Regions from separate parts of the Homo sapiens genome. Here region 2 is linked to region 1. The links are contacts of gene promoters, found by promoter capture Hi-C in blood cells and fetal thymus (Javierre and others, 2016). All regions are on one chromosome and are shown on one strand. The core of a region is centred on a gene start or on the middle of the fragment in contact, and the rest is flanking DNA. Distances in the headings are between cores, read along the strand shown. Region 1 holds the start of ADPGK-AS1 (ADPGK antisense RNA 1). Region 2 has its middle 16 kb from the start of NEO1.

What was found. Contacts are between HindIII fragments. The CHiCAGO score rates a contact against its expected background, and 5 or more counts as called.
Region 2: a contact is called between a fragment that was not itself captured here and the fragment with the promoter of ADPGK-AS1 in region 1, in 3 of 17 cell types (total CD4 T cells, naive CD4 T cells and non-activated CD4 T cells). The highest score is 5.9, in total CD4 T cells.

The regions. Positions count from the first base shown.
Region 1 is chr15:72,780,927-72,787,255 of GRCh38, forward strand. It overlaps ADPGK-AS1 (ADPGK antisense RNA 1), which reads left to right and starts at 1,909. Exons shown (of 3, transcript NR_040107.1): 1 at 1,909-4,270. ADPGK (ADP dependent glucokinase) reads right to left here and starts at 2,832. Exons shown (of 7, transcript NM_001365225.1): 1 at 2,533-2,832. The coding sequence starts at 2,765. RefSeq lists enhancers at 2,208-2,277, 3,038-3,097, 3,148-3,357 and a silencer at 2,528-2,987. The HindIII fragment of the contact is 5,666 bases long and covers 1-4,603 here.
Region 2 is chr15:73,033,640-73,039,406 of GRCh38, forward strand. No RefSeq gene overlaps it. Among named protein-coding and RNA genes, the nearest start is that of NEO1, 16 kb to the right of the region's middle. The HindIII fragment of the contact is 1,729 bases long and covers 2,382-4,110 here.

The DNA of each region.
Region 1 (6,329 bases), core at 659-3,158:
TCCTTTCTCCCTTTACACAAACCCTACAATGGCCTCTTAAACCAGTGTCAGGATGTCAAGATATTCCTCCTTATGAATCACATTAAATGGCATTTTGAGTGTGTCTGTGTGACAGAGAGTGTGAATACGAGTGTGTCTCTAGAGAAGTCAAACTACAACCTCAAAATGAGATTCTGATACAAGTACTACACCTGCTCCCCCTCATCCCTCCTATATCCCCCTATCTTTGGGCTAAAAATCCTCTTTGGGTAATAAATGATGAGAAGCAGTGAAACAGTTTAGAACCACTGCTCAAAATCCACCCTTCACATTCCCACCAATTCTCAACAAAGAACTTGTCATCAGTTAACTACTTACAAACCTTTATGGCTTCCCCATAAAAGGCCCTTCACAATCTGGTCCAACCCTTCGTTCTCAGCATCATCTCTTTACAACCCTCTACCATAGGATTCTCGCTCCAAAACAAGGCCGACCTGTTCCCAAACAAACCATGTACTTTTTCACATTTGGTTCTCTTGCCTAGGTGGACCTGTTCCCACTTTGGCTTGAAGAAATCTCATTTATTTAGTGTCTGTCCTATGAAAGTCACTGTAGTAAAATATATTTTCCAAGATGGTGGCAATAAGATGCCCCATTCCAAATGTTCTTTTCACAATGTGACACTGATGCTCCTCCCATCAAGGTTTGTTCTATGTCCCCTCCCTTAAAACCAGGTGGACCTGTGACTCTGGTAGAAGAGTTCCTATGTGCTTCTAAGGTAAGGTCGTAAAAGGCATTAAGGCTTCTGCCTGGTCCTCGTGGGTTGTTCCTCTTCTAACCATAATTGTTATGGATTGAATTGTCCACCCCCCACCAATTCATATGCTGAAACCCTAATTCCCAATGTGACTATATTTGGACGTAGGGCCTTTAAGGAAGTAGTTAAGGTTAAATAAGGTCATACGGGTGAGCCCTATTCCAAAAGGACCTAGTGTCCACATAAGAAGAATAAGAGGCACCAGGAGTGTACATGCGCAGACTAACTGAAAAGCCAGCTGGCTGCAAGCTAGGAAGAGAGGCCACATCGGAAGCCAATCCTGCCAACACCTTGATCTTGGACTATCAGCCTCCAGATCCACGAGAAAACAGATTTGTTGTTTAATCCACCTAATTTGTGGTATTCTGTTCTAGCAGCCCAAATGACTGATACAATAATATGTTTCCAACAAGTGAGACAGGGGCCTTGCTTCACCCATCTCTGTATCTTAAGAACCTAGCACAGACCTGACACTAACCATGTAGTTGGTGAATATCTGCTGAATGAACGCGCATAAAGCAAGGAAGGACAATTTAATCCCAGCACTTTGGGAGGCCAAGATGGGAGGCTGGCTTGAGCTCAGGAGTTCGAGACCAGCCTGGGCAATATAGCAAGACCTCGACTCTACTAAAAAAAATAAAATAAATAAAAAATTGGCTGGGCGTGGTGGTGCTTGCCTGTCGTCCCAGCTACTCCAGAGGCTGAGGCAGAAGGATCTCTTGAGCTCGGGAGTTCGAGGCTGCAGTGAGCAGTGATTGCACCACTGCACTCCAGCCTAGGCGACAGAGAGAGAGACCCTGTGTCCAAAAAAAAAAAAAAAAAAAAACCCCAAAATTATAGCTAATATCGAATGCTTTTTAAAGCAGGCACTATGCTAGAGAGATTACATGAATGATGTCATTTAATCTTCAGGCCAAGTTTGCTCTACTTTACCCCTCCCGGCCCCAACACTCCACAGAAAGTAGTGAGCTACATGGTAGAGGGCCTGCTTTTATGTGGTGGTTATACATAACTCTGAGATTACGGCAAGAAAGTCAAATCGAACTGAGACAGGGACTAAAGTTAGTGTTTACAGTATCAATACTATAAAGAAAATAATTACATTCCCAAGGAAAAGTACAAAGAAAGGAGGTAGTGTCATTTGGAAGAACCTTAAATATGCAGTGTCACTGAAGTCAGGGGAAGAAAAGAATTTCACGGAGAAGGGCGTGTTCAATGCGTGGAAGGCTGCAGAGTAGATAATGAAGATTCAAAAAGGCAAATCTGAGAGGAGTTGCAGTACAGTCGTGTGGTTTCTAGACTACACGGCGTTTCGAAAGTGGGTAAAGGCAGACATCACGCGTCTTCAAGAAGTTCAGAAGAAAGAGGAAGAGTGTTGTCATAGTGGGTAAGGTCAAGTATCTTTGATTGCAAAACAACAGTCGCCAGAAGAGAAGGGGCTAAAAGTTGGAACGAGGAAGAAGGCTCGGAGAAAGGTGTCAGACAAAGCGGGATTAGCAAGAAGCTGTTAGGGCTGGTCCTACCGGGATGAGAGAAAGGCGCAGAGGCCAGCCGAGTGGAAAGAGCAGCGGTGACGAACCGGGTTCCACTCAGACGTCCGACACTTCTCGCCAAGGGGCCAGCGCGGACAGCAGCGCCTCCCGGGGACCTCTGAGAAGCCCTGTTTCTGCGCGGCTCCGCCCGACCTCCAAGGCCGACCTCGGAGGCTCAGAGACCCAGGCCCCGTTGGCACTCACCCCACTGCCACGCGGCGCCAGCGCCGGACTGGCCGCACGATAAGCGCGTCCCAGGCTGCCGCCAACCGGCCCTCGGGGGAGACGGGTCCCGGGGGCGCAGGCGCGGGCCCCAGACACAGCGAGCTCCAGAGAGAGCGCAGCGCCGAGCCTGGCAGCTCTGGCTCCAGCAGGAAGACGCAGCCCACGGCCAGCGCCAGGAAGCCCGCGTACGCGGAGCCGCGCCACAGCGCCATGGGGACCCAGGCGCCGCACCTGCGCGAACCAACTCCTTTCCTAGCCCGCGCCTCTTCCGGGCTCGGCGCGCGCCGATGTCGACACAAGCGCTACGTCACAAGGGTGCGCCACGGGGCCCCCCAAGGGGCGGGGCGACGGGCGGCGCCAGGACGGAGCGAGGGGGGACCCCACGCCTCAGTCCCAGGCCTGGCACTGCGGTGTTGCCGCCCCGGAGGAGGTGGGACAACGGCGGTTGTGCCAGTCCGGGCGCTGCACCCCCTTCCCGGAACTCTAATCGTATCCCCAAATAGAGGGATGGGAACACATTTGCTTTCGCAGTAAAACGAAACGGACAGATTGTGAAGAAGCGGACAAACCTCGCGTTAATATTCGAACCAGTGGGTGTCCCCATTGGCACGGATCACACCCCCATCTTTTAATCCCTCCCTCCGCCCGTGTCCCCTCATTTGCTAGACTTGTCCTCTTCCAGGCCTAGTGCTCGGCGCTTCTGAGAGGAATAGGCTCACAGAATAGCGGCGCTGCCGAGACCCCTGGGGTACGCGAGGCAGGGGGATTCCGCCCCTTTGGAAGGTGGCCGAGACCCTCAGCCACTAAAGGACTTCGTCGAGACAGGAGAGCCCGCAGAGATCGTTCTCTTCTGGATAACCAGATTATTCCACAATCAAACTTTAACCCTTTTGGGGGCGCTGTTCCCTTTAACAAACTCTGGAAAATGTACACAATCTTGTGCACAACACGAGAGTTATGGACCTGGGTTGAGAAACGCTGCTTTCTTTTGTTCCCCCTTGGTGACATCACTTAAACCCAGCCCTCTCTTCGCTGATACTTTTCTGTGCATGAGGCTAGGTTGAGAGACAGTGAAGCTAGGCTGGGTACCAGCTCATTCTCATCAGCCACAATGCCCGGCCTAGTCTTGTTCCCTGGTTTGTTTCCACTTTTCCAATTCTCTCGGCTCCTGACCTTGGCTTTGTGTCCAGTTTTCCACTGTGACCCTGACCTTTGGACTTGGCAGCGAAACTTTATTTCCCTAACTTTGATCTTGGGCATTAGTCTTCATTCTCCTCAGCCCCACCTCATCAGAACTTCCCCATCCTGGTCATCTACCTTCCCGCAGTTCATCCTACCCAGCCTACCTGACCATGCCATCCCTTTCGACAAAGATATTCACACAGGAACAGATTTGGGCTACCTTGGAAAAGAAGCCAAAGAGCCAGTCAGATCTTTATGAAGCCATGAAAGCCATCTTCCCTAGAGTTGCCTGTCACTTCTCTCTCCTTAGGGAGACATGTCAGTCAGTTCCTAGAGAAACTGCTTCTTCTCACAACCCTCAGCTGTCAGGTTTCCCTGGCACCCAGAGGGGACTGAGCCAGCAGCTGACCTGAAAACAGCGAGTCTGCTGACTGTCCAGCGATCATTTCCCTCTATTGAGAATTTTAACCAAGTTTCTGTTGTCTGTAGTTATTTGATATTGGCTGTGGACCCACAAAGTCACACAAGGCTAAAGGTCAGAACCAGTTAAATATGTTTCCAAGGTGAAGTTTTGGGGAGCACAGGAAGCTGAACTGTGGGAAGGTGATAGAACAGACAGATCTAGAGGACTAGGAGAGTGCTCCACATTAAAGTGATGTGGACAGAAACCTGCCTGGGGCTTTCTTGCTCCCACGAGAGGCTGCTAAACTTCCAGCACTTTGCACCTAATTCTTCTGCTTCTTTCTAGATTTGCCAGAATTGTTGATTTAGTCACAGAGACAAAACAACAGCAGTTGAACAAAGTGGATGTTTATTTCTCATGTAAAAGTCTAAATGGGGTGTTGGCATGTTGTGGGCTGTGGTAGCAAGCTTGGCCCCCTCTGGTTGCTATGGGACCTGCTGTGGGCCTCTTGCTGGTTAGTCACTCAGTGTGGGTTTGCATTGTGGGTGGTGAAGGGGGCCAGACAAGGAAACGAGAGAGCTGACCTCAATTCCAACTGAGAACTGAAGAGTCAGGAGCCGCAGGAGGTGAAGAACAGAACACCAGGGACAGTTGCCAGGCCTGGCGGAGCCTGATGTGGCTTCTGGTCACATACAGAGTCACAGGGCCCTTAATTCCTTCTCATCGGGGCTCAGGGGCAGGCATTCACTGTCTTGGTGCCACAGTCCCTCTTGAAATATTTCCTTAACGAAAATCAGAAAAGATTCTGATCATCTATCTGTTCAGAGAGTCTGGAATCCTTTGCAAGCCAATTGTTTTTCTAGAAGTTAGGTTTCTGGGGACAATTAAAACAGCTCTGAGTGGGCAGCTGTGGCTCCTTTGCCTAGGCTGAACAAAGAGGAAAGGGCTGGGCTGGGCAGGCCTCAAGACACCCCCCGCCCCCACCCAAATTGCTTCCAGACATGGCCTTTCCTATTGGTTCTCTCTCCTAGGACCTTGAAATGAGAGAAGAAAAGCAATTTGGTTCTAGAAAATTCAGAGGCAAATGGAGGCTCCAGGTGCCCCACCCAAGATCCTGACCTGGAAGGCCAGGGAGCAGATCCTGTATGAACACAAAGAATTAGCAGAATCCTGTCAGCTTCCAAATTAGCTGAAGGTTTTGGCTTTAACATAAATACCCATCAGCGTCACCCCCGCAATCTGAAAGGCCTTAAGGGGCACATTTGTTCCCACGTGGAGCAGAAACTAAAGTGGGACCAAATGGTCCCTGTGAAAGCTGGGCTAACCCACTTTCCTTGCAGCTCCAGGCCTCTGGGGTTTCATCCAAGCTGCTCTTTGAAGGCCACACTGTGTCAAAGCCTTTGTTGATGCCAGGGACACAGCCCACCACAGGCCATGCCCAAAGGCCAGAGTCAGAGCACAATTTTGAAGATTACAGAAAACTCCAAAGAGATTGAAGAGATGGAATAAAGGATCCCAGCCCCCGAAAAGAGAAAGCTTTGTGTCTGTAGCCATAGCCCTTGGCAATCAGACATCCTCCTCACTAATGTGAGGTCAGGAGGGGACTAGAAGTGCTCAGAGGATGGACTGCCTCTGGCCAGTGCAGGGGAGAGGCAGGGGTGTTGAGGCACAGGAGCCAGATGAGAGGAACGTCAGCAGCAAAGCAGTAAGAAGAACATGAGAGTTTCTTGATAGTAATAGAACTTCCTACACAGACTGGGAACCGGGTTGTAGCTTGAGGGGATGTGACAACATAGTGGCCCGGAATTTTCACTTTGGAAATTAACTGCTTTGGACCAGGAAGAAGCGCTGAGCCTAGAAAGGCAGGAGGCACAGGACTGTGTGGGCTTCTGTCTGGCAGGGACCTATGAGCTTCATAGGGCGAATGAATCGGGGCAGGATAAAGCAGAGGCCTCCACCCTCACAGTGCTCTTAGCCATCTCAGGCTTCCCGGAACACTGCTACCAGGCTGCCTGCTGGAGCCCTTTACACTCACAGGCCTTCCTGCTTGGGTTCTCTTCTGCAGGCTGCGTAAACCAGTCCTGTTGTAGCCCTTGTAGCATCTGCTGTAGTGATCTGGTTTGGGTTTCAGTATTACTTGCAATGGTTTGGAAGGAAATGGGAAGTTTGCCTTCTAACTACATTTTCTTTT
Region 2 (5,767 bases), core at 1,996-4,495, 250 kb after region 1:
AGAGCAAGCCTCCGTCTCAAAAAAAATAAAAATAAAAAGGTGCTGTAGCTGCATGAAGGTGTTGTGTGGTAGAAACCGAGCACACACCACCTTCAGCTGACTGCTGACAGATCAGATAGCCCCCTCTTAGCCCTGGGTGCCTCCTTCCCTGGATAAGATTGAACAAAGGTCTCCACCTGCTTACCTGGTAGAAGTTCCGCATACTTCCTAGCATAAGGTGGAAGGTGAAATCTTGTGACCGCTTTTCCAGCCCATATTTCCCCTAGCAGTATAGATAGAGAGCTAGCTGGGTGATCACTGGGAATTTAGCAACTTTTCCATGAGAATAGTTAGGCTCTTATCTTGGTTCCCCAGGAACATCTTTGGGGTATGGAGTTGGGTGTAGGTGAGCTGAATGTAGAGCTAAAAATGTGGTGAACCTGCCTGCACAGGGGCAACTGGCTTTTAAAAAAAGAGTGTGTGTTGGGTGACTTAAGGGCCCACTACAGACTCCTTCAATTATCAGCTTGGGCAAACAGTCTAAATACGTTGTTTTGTGCTGTAATGAGAATATAGTTCCTTCTGGACAAAGAGAAAAATATGGTGATATTAACTTCTAGCTTGAAGTAGAATAAGTGAAGCTCCAGTCTTTATTAATAAGTAGATGATCCAATGTTAGTGAAGTGGCTTTTATGTGCCAATAAGTTGTGTTTAGCAGTCAGGAATAGAACACATTTATCCCTTCCCCCACAGCCTTCTCCTCAGTCCATGCAAAACAAATTGGAGTGAAACAACACCATCTGCTCATTTCACACTCAGTGAAGAAGCACGTCAACTCCTTCTCAAGGTTAGAAAGTCCAAACTCAAAAAGACACTCCTCTAGTTATGCAGAAAAAAAAAAAAAAAAAAGCCTCCTGAAAGCAAGAACCCCATAGGCTTAGAAGAGTCCCATATTTCCCAAAACATGACATTGCAAGGGCTGAGTTGATGAGGGCTAAAAAGCTGAGGGCTTCCTTATGAGGGTGTCACATGGCTTTGTTTCACTAGCTAATTGTATTTCTATGATTTTGTGCCTCTGATTTAGATGGAAAGAATGGCAGTAGAAAAAGACTATCAATAATTACCATAGTTCTTGTATCCCGGTGTTGGGAGGAAAAGAATAAAGAAGAAAGAGAAGTCTGGCTCAGTTTGAGAAGGCTGTTTTGTTCTGATAATTTTCTTTTGTGTAACAACCACTTTTCTTTTGGCAATCACTTTAAAAAATCTAAATACTTAAATTAAACTCCATTATTTTATCCAGAGATGAGGCTTTGAATTAGGGAGGAAACTGAGCCATTTGAGTGTCCCTCTATTTACTGTGCTCAGCCAAACTCTGCATTCAGAAGTAAAGATAAGAGAAAGTTCTTACTAATTCATATGAATGCCCCAGAAATTAGAGGAGGGCAGTCCTTTGGCCTTGCTAACAATTCTTAATCTCCACACAGTTATAACCAGCCACCTATTTTTAAAATGCTGTTCCCAAGAAGAACCCTGGTGCGATAGGTGGCTGGACTTGTTTTAGAGACCAGATATTTGCAATACAAAGTCTGAGAAGAATCAAGTCTTGCACCAACTATAGCATACCTCACTGGTACTGATAATTTATGATATTCTTGGAGAAACAGGAGATTAACATAAAAGGATAAATTGTGGCATGCCAAGTACCAAACAAGTGTGCATTATGTAAAATCGTACATCTTTTTATTCACAAAGCTCTTGTGCCAGAGTTTTGAGATTTGGTGAACAAGACCACATTAACTTGAATTCATCCATCCATTCAACCATCTGTCAGTGTGTCCATCTGCCCAGCAAACATTATACCACTGCCTATGGTGCCAGCCCTCAGAGTTACTGAGACAAATAAGGCATGGTCCCCGTCCTGGTGGGGGAGTCAGACTTGCAAATCATAATACCTCAATAAGTGAAATCACAGAAGTATGTTCAAGGTGGACAGGTAATCAAAAAGGAGGGAGCAGTTGAAATATGAAAGAAAGATTGCAATTTACCAGGCATGTGCATTCTAATCAGAAGGCACAGCTTGAGCAAAGCATGGAGGCATGACAAAGCACAGGGTATCCAAGGAGCTAGAAGCCGTGTGATATTGCTGCGGGGGTTTGAGTGGCAGTGATAAGAGATGAGCCCAGAGAAATAGGTGCAAGCTAGAGAAAGTCAAACCTCATAGGCCATGTTTAGACATTTCTCTGTAGACAATAGGCAACACTGGTGGGATTTCAGGAGGGCATGTGTTTAGAATAATTTCTGTGATGGCAATGAGGAAAACTATGATGCATAGAGGAGGAAAGTGAGAAAAGTATAGAAAACCCAAAGGGGCAAGTTGTCACTGTGTTCACCAGGCTTTTTAAAGCTTTGATCCTATTTCAGCCTTTGTATTTCCAGACTGGGAAATGCCAATGTGAGACAACTTAGTGTTTGCAATATCACGGATCTCATAGAAACTAATATTATTTTTAATAGTATATTAGGGGTCAAGCATAGTATGGAGTCTGCTTGTGGCCAAGAGGCCTGGGGACTCCAGCTATCCCAGGCCCCACTCAACCAGTGCAAGGCTTGAGGGAATCAGTAGCTCAGCTCTACCTGTAACCCAATGGAGCTGCCCCTTGTGCCTCGATGCTACTCAGAGTCTATCTACATTGGAAACGAATGAAGTAGTAATAAATAAGCTCAACCAGGGTAGATCTGGAATCCAAACTCCAATTACAAGGTTTTTCCCTCCTAATCTAACCACGCTGCCTCTTCAAGCTGTGCTTCAGGAGAATTACTCTCTTGGGGCATAGGAAAATTCATAGTTTATAAAAGCTAAACAAGGAAGCTGGGGATATTCAGAGCTGACCTCCTAGAAGATAATCATGTTCTCTTATTCTATCAAAGTCAGAAGAAGAAAAATGAATCGTGTGGTTCACAGGTTATTTTCCATGTTGATTAGCTCCATATCATTATTCATAGTTGATAAAGTATCTCTGTCATCCGATGTATATAGACACAGGAGTTTTTGGATAAACTATGAAAGAAACTAGTGAGTGAGTGATAAAGCTAGTAACAAAAAAGAAGAGTCCAGTTCTTCTGAGTTACAGCTGACTGTACTAACCGTGGTTACTTTTTCTTTCAGAGTTTTTGGCCAATAATGTTATTTTTAATTTGCTATTTGGCCTATGAATAATTCATTTAAAAGAAAATCTCAATATCTTTTGAGCTTATTTTAGTGTCCTTATTTTAGGGCATTGATTAAAATATCAGTCTGTTTAGCATATCAGCATGCTGCCTGTCAGTCTTCAGGAAAATTTCTTCTCTCTCTGGGCTGTTACACAGTTCTGGTGGATTTGTTGTATTGTATCACATTGCATTATGTTAAAATATTTCCTTCTTGCCATTAACTTTACAATCTGGCTGGGTGTGGTGGCTCGGGCCTGTAATCCTAGCACTTTGGGAGGCCGGGGCAGGAGAATCGCTTGAGCCCAGGAGCTTGAGACCAGGCTGGGCAACATGGAGAGACCTCATCTCTACAAAAAGTAAAAAATTAGTGGGGCATGGTAGCACGCACCTGTAGTCCTAGATACTTAAGAAGCTGAGGTGGGAAGATCACTTGACCCTGGGAGGTAGAGGCTGCAATGAGTTGTGATTGTGCCACTGCACTCCAGCCTGGGCAACAGAGTGAGATCCTGTCTCAAAACAGACAACAAACAAACAAAAAACCCTGAAAACATCAAGACAAAAAGTTACAATCCACTTATTAAAAGCACATTCTAATTTTTTCCTTAATATTTGTTTCATTGTGATTAAAATAGCTAAACTGACAGTTTTGAAGTTATGTCAAGTTGGCAGAAACAGTAAAAGTTATTTTTCCTCAACTTCATTTCTGTCTTCAAAGCACCACATCTAGGACTAAGAAAGAAATGTGTGCTGTTGGTAACATTCTACTTCTTAGTTGTCCTGCTGATACTGCCAACACAGTAGCCAAACAACTGTAATAATTTCTGGAAGGCATCTGTGACCTTGACACTTGGCCCATTATGAACGGCACCAAACCCCTCCAACCATTTCCTATAGGTCTGAAAGCTGCTGTCAGGCAATAAAAGCTTTCAATTGTTACTGACTTGGGTTAGACTCATGTTCTACTTATAAATTTCCATTTAGTGTTTCTATTGGTGTTTGAATCAGGGAAAAGGTTTATTTGAAATCTTAAAATTCATTCCGTATTTCTTTCAATCAATATAAATCAAAAGCAGTCTCAGAAAATTGTCAATAAGTCTGGCCAAGTCAGAAGTAAATGTCAAGTCTTCTGAAGGTTGCATTTTCTCAAGGAAGCACTATTCAAGCATATTTGTTAGCTCAATTAGTCTTGATTTAGTAGCTCCATCAGTGAGCTAAGGCCTCTGGCACTAGCAGAGTAATTTGATTTCTAAGGTGTCAGTAAGAGACTAAAAACTATCCAAAATGGTAAATCCATGTCCTGAAAGCAGACGTACAGATCTTGACATTCTTGGCGGCATAGCAGTCAGGGAAACGTGATGATCTTTGACACTGTCTTCATCTGGGATCAGTGCCCCTCAATGTCACATGCCTGGGAACTCTGATTTTGACCATCAGTTCCCGGAGAGTGCTGGGAGGTGACAGGATGGATGTTCCTTTTGGAATGTCAGTTCCCTGAAGTGATCCTTTTACTTCTTTCACTGTCTTTAGTGGCAAAATGTACACGCTGACAGCCCTGAAGACAGCACTGCAGGGCATGTTTTAGAAAAGGAGAATGTTATTGTCAAAGCCTATCAATCTGGTCTCTTTTCCCCCTCACTTCATCCAGAGGCCACAAAACTAACTTTCTGCTGCTCAGACACGTACTTTGAGAAAGTGTAGTCACATTGTAACTGGGGCTACTTAGGACCTCAATCCAGTTGGGGAAGGGTGGCTTGCATCATCTAGGTGAGGGGTGAAGAGAACGGGACCAAGATAACCTAAACCACTGTATTATATCCTTCCCTCTCTTAACTCCCTGCTGAACTGATCTGACCAGTGTAACATACAAATTAATTATTTATCACCTCCAGGAATTAGAAAGCAATCTGCCTGGCATTCCCGTCTCAAGGGTAAATCTAAGCTGGTTACAAAAAAGGGGAGGGTTCATTGGACCAAGACTGAGGAGTTTCACAAAATTGAAAGTGTAGTTGAATGTACTATAGGTGCAGAGATCCAGCTGGCCGTCAGGAACACCAGAAACTGGGATGTTAATGACATTCAAATGTTGTCTCATTCATCACGGCTAAGATTCTGTATGTCAGCTTCATTATCTTTTGTTGGACACTCGTTTTCTCCACATGTTGAAAAACATGGCCTCAGACATTTCCTGGGTTTTAAATTTTAGACCTTAAACTACTGGTCTCACTCTCTCAGTACTTCAAGTGAAAGTATTATGGGTTTGATTTAGGTCGTTACCCATAAATGAACCAGTCAACTACAGACAGTGGATCAGGGTAGTGTGATTAGCCAAGCTTGGGTCAGATGTCTGCACCAAGCTCAATTAACTGTGGCCAAGAGATGAAGGTCGTACTGTAATAATGTGGTAGCTCTAGTGGCAACCACGTGGTTGGAGGAGGAATGAATGACAGGCACACCCTCAGGTGTCCATTATACATAGCTAAAACAAAAAGCAAAACAATTCTTAAATAACAGAAAAGCAAAGATATATTTAGGCACAAATAAACATAAAGTCAAATCCAAAGCCAAAGCCATTTATTAA